Linked DNA regions of Homo sapiens: region 2 is linked to region 1. Evidence: promoter capture Hi-C in 16 types of primary human blood cells and fetal thymus (Javierre and others, 2016). All regions are on one chromosome and are shown on one strand. Each heading gives the region's core, a stretch centred on a gene start or on the middle of the fragment in contact. The rest is flanking DNA. Distances are from core to core; before and after follow the strand shown. Region 1 holds the start of COMMD8 (COMM domain containing 8). Region 2 overlaps CNGA1 (cyclic nucleotide gated channel subunit alpha 1).

Region 1 (2,972 bases), core at 265-2,764:
TGCTAACAGGTTGGAAGATGTAAGAGAGAGGGTGAGCCCAGATGCCTCAATTTTCAGTTAAGGAGTTAAAGATTAAGGGGCTTAAATTGTTGAGGACACTCAAAATGGAGGCAGTAAAGAGGTAGAAGAGATGTGAAAAGGGGGGGCCATGGATGAAACCTAGAACGTCAGGTTGAGAGGGGCTGGGTGAAAGTGGTGGTGCCACAAACCGAAAATGAGGCTACGGGAGGAGTAGGTCCAGGGGGAAAGAAGAGCTGAGGCAAGGGCATACTGAATTTGAGGTACCTGTGGCAGAAGCCTGACACTCAGGGAAGAGATTTTGGTTTGGGGTTTTTGGGGTTTTGTTTTGTTTTTTACCTGGCATTCTTGAACCATAGAGGAAGAAATTTTTGGCTGGACCTAAAGATTTAGAAGTCATCGACATATATGGTAATAAAGGTTATGGGCCTTATCTAAATGGGTAGAGTGAAGACAAGGAGAGCCAAAAGCCAATAAAACACTCAGAATCAACAGATCTGAGCATAAGTTCCAGCTCTGCCACTAACTGGATGGGCAATCCTGGGCAAGTTAGCCAAAATTTCTGCTGACATTTCAGGTTCCTCACTTGCAAAAACAAAGAAAAGAATTAGGTGTTTTTTTTTCTTGACCCTGGCAGGAGGTAAGTTCATTCCTTTCTGTCTCCTCCACACTTTCTCCAGTATAAATGGAATAGAGGAAACAGGAAGCCAAAATTGAGACTTATAAAAAAGATGCTCCACCAGGGCACAGGCTGTGTCTCACTCACCATTTACCTCATCCCATCGGGGCGCTCAATCTATGGTAGACTTCAATGAAAAACTGGCTGAACAAATGAATGTGGTTGCTTTTTCCAGATTCTTACAAGCCAGGTTCTTTTACAGACTGGAAGTCAATGGGTACATCACCTCTTGGGACGATCCTAACTAAAGTAACTCGCCCAGTTATTTCTCTTCCTACCAACCACCCTCAAGGGGGGAGGCAGGGTCCGCTTCGGTCTTTGTCACATTGTATTCCAGCACCTAGCTCTGTACCTGCTGTCCGGTAGGTAGGGAGCCTTTGGGAGGTTATGTGTTGAATGAATTAAGAAAACGTATACTAAGAGGCAGCAAACACCGACTTAAGCTTTCAAAGCCCAGTCTGGTGTGGGCGCTTCTGCGCGCAAAGCCCCTGGAGCTGCACCTCTAGGCTGGGGGTGGCGCCCCAAGCTGTCCTCCTAGGCTCCCCAGGGAAGGCGGGGACCAACCACCCGAAATCACGCCCCTTCCTCCTCCCTTCCCTAGGGAGCTTGCGAAGGCGTCCGGGTCGCACCCGGCCTGATCCGCACGCCGGGCTGTCGCGAATCCCAGGCCCCGCGCCGCTTCCCCCGGTACCCGCCCTCACCTGCGGGCCCAGCTCGGCCGGCAGCTTCTGCAGCCGCCACAAGGGCGTCCCCTCTTCCGGCTCCATCCCTGCGCGAAGCTGGGGCTTGGGTCACGTGTCAAGGCTGGCCGCTTGTCTAAAGCTACGACTCGCCCACGTGACTCTCGCCGGCGGGGAGGGGCGTGGACCCAAGAAGTCCCTGTGCGCTTGCGCAGAGACCGAACTACCGCTTTCCCCGTAACCAGGGAGACTGCAGTTTGCAGTGATGTGGCTAAGATACCCTTGTGCTATTAAAGGCACATTTACGTATCTTTCAACGCAGTTTGTACCTTTGTTTAGGGTTCTATTGAACTTTCTCTGTGCTCTTTAGAAAACCGTCGAATAAAGGTAACCATCTTTTTGGGTGCCTGGGCATGGTCATTGTCCCAGAGTTTTAACAGAAGTCTCTACTAAAGTATCCTGATTTGCAAGGTAAATTAAGGTTTTGCCATGAGCAACGTTCTGTATATAGATCATCCTAGGGAGAAGGTACTATTTTCAGCCCTATTTGCAGAAAGCAAACATGATTAGAGAAGTCACTAAGGTTGTCAGATTTAGCAAATGAAAATACCAAGCGTCCAGTTAAATGTGAAATTTCAGATAAACAATAATATTTTGTTGTAAGTATCCCCTAAATATTGTATGGGATATATTTATACTGAAAATTATTTGTCCATCTGAAATTCAAATTTAACTGGTGTCCTGTATTTTATCTGGCAACGCTAAAAATCACTGACCTAAGTAAGAGGCCCAGTCTGAAGTTAAACAAAATCAATCAGACTCAAGAGCCATGCTATTAATGTTGGACTAAGCTCAAAGTCCAAATATCCTTTCTGTTATTTCTTATTACAGCTGTTACTTTAATCAGGTGCTGAAGAATTCAGTGGTGGTAAAATGAGCATGTCCTGCAAAAGCGGATAATAATAACTAGTAGACCAGAAACAGGAATTACAATCTAATTTATAAATTTAATAATAAAAGTGGTGCAAAATGGTGAAGCAGAAGAGAAAGTATTCAATCTATGGGCTACGCAGAGAAAAACTACTCATTAGCAGCATTCTAGGTTTACCTCCTACGTCCTTTCTCTGTGTGCCTCAACTCTAAAAGGTGAAGTCAATTTCTTTCTCCCGTGAGTTTTCATGATATTTTAGCTGTCCCTCACTTATTTACCACTTTCTAGTTCTTAATGCAGATAGATGCACAACACTCATTGCCCTATCTTAAATGTAATTGTCTTAAGATACTTTGTGAATAGGAGCTCCCCTAGTAATAGTTAAAATGAGAAGTCTGGAAAACTACTTCACCTGAGTCTTTCTGTAAATCTAATGATGGGTAAGGTCTATTTTGAGAAAAAAACTTAAATTTTATGTATTATAATAATTGGGAGAAAAGTACTTTCAAGCATCTACTATATGTCAAACCCTTCATATATTTTTATCTTACTAATTCCTGCTACAGCCTTGTACAGTGGGTATTACAGATGAGGAAATGAACTTGAAGTAATATATTTTGTAAGGTCACATAGATAGTAGTTACAAAATCACTGGTCTGAGGCC
Region 2 (2,977 bases), core at 1-2,500, 470 kb after region 1:
TCCAGGTCCCTCAATACTTGAAAATTCTGTGTCAATAAGCGGTTTCAGAAATTTCTCAACCTTGGTTAATCTTTGTTTCAGTTTCTGCTGCATGGACTCATACTCAGCCAAGATTCGGGCAAACCTGGTTTGCAGGAGGTCTACTGACCCCTCCATTCGAGTAACCTTCTCTTCAAGATCTTTAGGATCACTGCCAGCATTTGCAATGTTTAGATCCAGTAGACCATCTTTCATTAAAATCTGCTTCCCTTTCTCTTCCAGCATAGTTTTGGCATCTGGGTACTCAGTTAGAGCTTCCATGAGGTCATCTTTTGAGAGACAGAACAGGTCTGAGTAGCCAATACTTTTAATATTGGCCGTTCTTCGATTGCCAGCTTTGCTCCCTTTAATGTTAAGAATGCTGATCTCACCGAAGTAGCTGCCATCGCTCAATACCACAAACTGAGTGACTCCATCATCTGCCACCACAGCGAGTTTGCCTTCCTTGATAATGTACATCTCTCGTCCGATATCCCCTTTCTTGCAAATATAATCTCCAGGACTGTAGACTTGGGGTTGCAATTTCAAGACCAACTCCACCAACAGACCAGCTTCACAATCAGCAAAAATGCGTACCTTTTTTAATGTGTCTAAGTGAACGTTGATGGCAATTTCTGCTCTTAGTTTATCAGGTAGATACTTTAAGACTTCTTTCTCATCAACTGTTTTTTTGTTGGTCCACAGGTAGTCAAACCATTTAATAACCCTCTTTTCCATATCTTTGCTTACATTTCGAAAATGCATATATTGCTTGATAGCATCAATTCTTGCTTGAAATTCTGCTCTGGCTGCATTCATGTTGGAAATCATAGAACCTATGTTACCAACGATGGTAGCAAAAATTAACACTCCAATTAGGAAATCAACCACCACAAAGACATACTCAGAATCCCTCACGGGAGGGGGTGTTTCACCAATGGTAGTCAAAGTCAGTGTAGACCAGTAAAGGCTGTATACGTATTTTCTAGCCAAACGGCCAAATTCAGGATCATTAATATCAGGGTAGACCCATGTATCATTTCCAAATCCAATAGCTTTAGAAATAGAGTAGAACACACATGCATTCCAGTGGATAATGATGACGATATACATAACAAGGTTGGAAATCCTGAAGATGTTTGGATAGTTTGTCCTTGTTTCTGTTCTCTGGAAGAACTCAAACATACGAGAGAACCGTAACAACCTGTTTAATCTAATTTCTGGATAGTTCCACCCTAACTTAAAATACAGCAAATCAGTTGGTATCAGTGACAGAACATCAAGTTTAAATTGCAAGTTGGATTTATATTTATTTATGAGTTTAAGTTCTTCCTTTACCAGCAGTCCTTGTTCTAGGTAACCTAAAATAGAAAATAAAATCAATTCAGTGTTTCTCCTTTTTATGTCATTGTGAATTTTTGTGAATAACTGTCAATTAACTTTGTTGAGGTCAACAGAAAAATTCATTTTCAATAAATATGCCTTTAACAATGTAATAAAATACAAATACTAATAAACCTATGGCTGTAGAAAATATTCTGCTGTAGAAATAAAAGGTAAAATTTTGGCCAGACAGCTCACATCTGTAATCCCAGTGCTTTGGGAGGCTGAGACCCAATATCACTTGAGCCTGGGAGTTTGAGGCTGCAGTGAGCCATGATAGCACTACTGCATTCCAGCCTGGGCAACAGCGAGACCCTGTCTCAAAAAAAAAAAAAGAAAAAAAAAGAAAAAAAGAAAAATTTTGTAAGTGCAAAAGTGAGAGTGTACAAATCTCTCAAGGTCTATCATCACCATCCAGGTAAAGCCATTCCTTTCATGAGTAGCATTCTTGTGATATTGTGAGATATATATATATATATATTTGGTCCCTGGCACAGAACTCTTAAAACTCTTGTAATTTCCTAAGCAATATGGTTACTAAGTGCATTTTTTTTTTTTTTGAGTCAGAGTCTTGCTCTGTCACCTAGGCTGGAGTGCAGTGGTGCAATCTCGTCTTGCTGCAACCTCCGCCTCTGGCTTCAAGCAATTCTTCTGCCTCAGCCTCCTGAGTAGCTAGGACTACAGGCACGTGCCACCACGCCCAGCTAATTTTTGTATTTTTAGTAGAGACAGGGTTTCACCATATTGGCCAGGCTGGTCTTGATCTCCTGACCTCGTGATCCACCTGCCTTGGCCTCCCAAAGTGCTGGGATTACAGGCATGAGCCACTGAGCGCGGCCCTAAGTCCATCTTTTGTTGTGGTATTTGGTTCTTGACCCCAGTTCCTGAAACAGAGCTCTTTATCCCTTGATATTTCCTGGGTGATAGAAATGTCTTTTGTTCTGGCCAGGTGTAGTGGCTCACACCTGTAATCCCAGCACTTTGGAAGGCTGAGGCAGGAGGATCCCTTGAGTGCAGGAGTTTGAGACCAGCTTAAGTCTCTATGATATTATTTGAAAGAAAAAAAGAAAGAAAGAAAGAGAGAGAGAGAGGGATGGAGGGAGGGAGGGAAAGAAAGAAAGAAAGAAAAGAAAGAAAGAAAGAGAAAGAAAGAAAGAAAGAGAAAGAAGAAAGAAAGAAAGAGAAAGAAAGAAAGAAGGAAAGAAAGAAAGAGGAAAGAAAGAAAAAGAAAAGTGTCTTTTGGTCTAATGAAGCAGCCCTTGGTGAGGTCCAAGATGGGGCTGGTCACCAGAAAGACTAAGTTATGTTTAGAAGCTTGGAACTTTTACCCCAACCTCCTTCATCCAGGAAAGGGAGAAGCACTGGAGACTGAGTTAATAGTCCATCATGCCTCCATGATAAAACCTCTATAAAAATCCCTGAACTATGGGGTTTGGAGCATTATCAGGTTAGTGAACACATCTATGAACTAGGAGGGTGCCACACCCCAATTCCATGGGGACAAAAGCCCCTGTTCTCATGACTCTTCCCGACTTTGCCCTATGTATCTCTTCATCTGGCTCTTCATCTGTATTCA

Evidence for each region. The method cuts DNA at HindIII sites, captures the fragments that hold promoters and counts their contacts. A CHiCAGO score of 5 or more calls a contact.
Region 2: a fragment that was not itself captured here is called in contact with the fragment with the promoter of COMMD8 in region 1 in 1 of 17 cell types (neutrophils); the score reaches 5.0 in neutrophils.

Annotation. Positions count from the first base shown.
Region 1 is chr4:47,462,188-47,465,159 of GRCh38, forward strand. COMMD8 (COMM domain containing 8) reads right to left here and starts at 1,515. Exons shown (of 5, transcript NM_017845.5): 1 at 1,399-1,515. The coding sequence starts at 1,464. LOC107986277 (a long non-coding RNA gene) reads left to right here and starts at 1,696. Exons shown (of 3, transcript XR_001741683.3): 1 at 1,696-1,764. RefSeq lists a silencer at 1,246-1,505. The HindIII fragment of the contact is 2,743 bases long and covers 1,139-2,972 here.
Region 2 is chr4:47,936,451-47,939,427 of GRCh38, forward strand. CNGA1 (cyclic nucleotide gated channel subunit alpha 1) reads right to left here. Exons shown (of 11, transcript NM_001379270.1): 11 at 1-1,379. All of the region lies in intron 1 of LOC101927157 (a long non-coding RNA gene), which reads left to right. Among named protein-coding and RNA genes, the nearest start is that of NFXL1, 23 kb to the left of the region's middle. The HindIII fragment of the contact is 2,926 bases long and covers 1-2,713 here.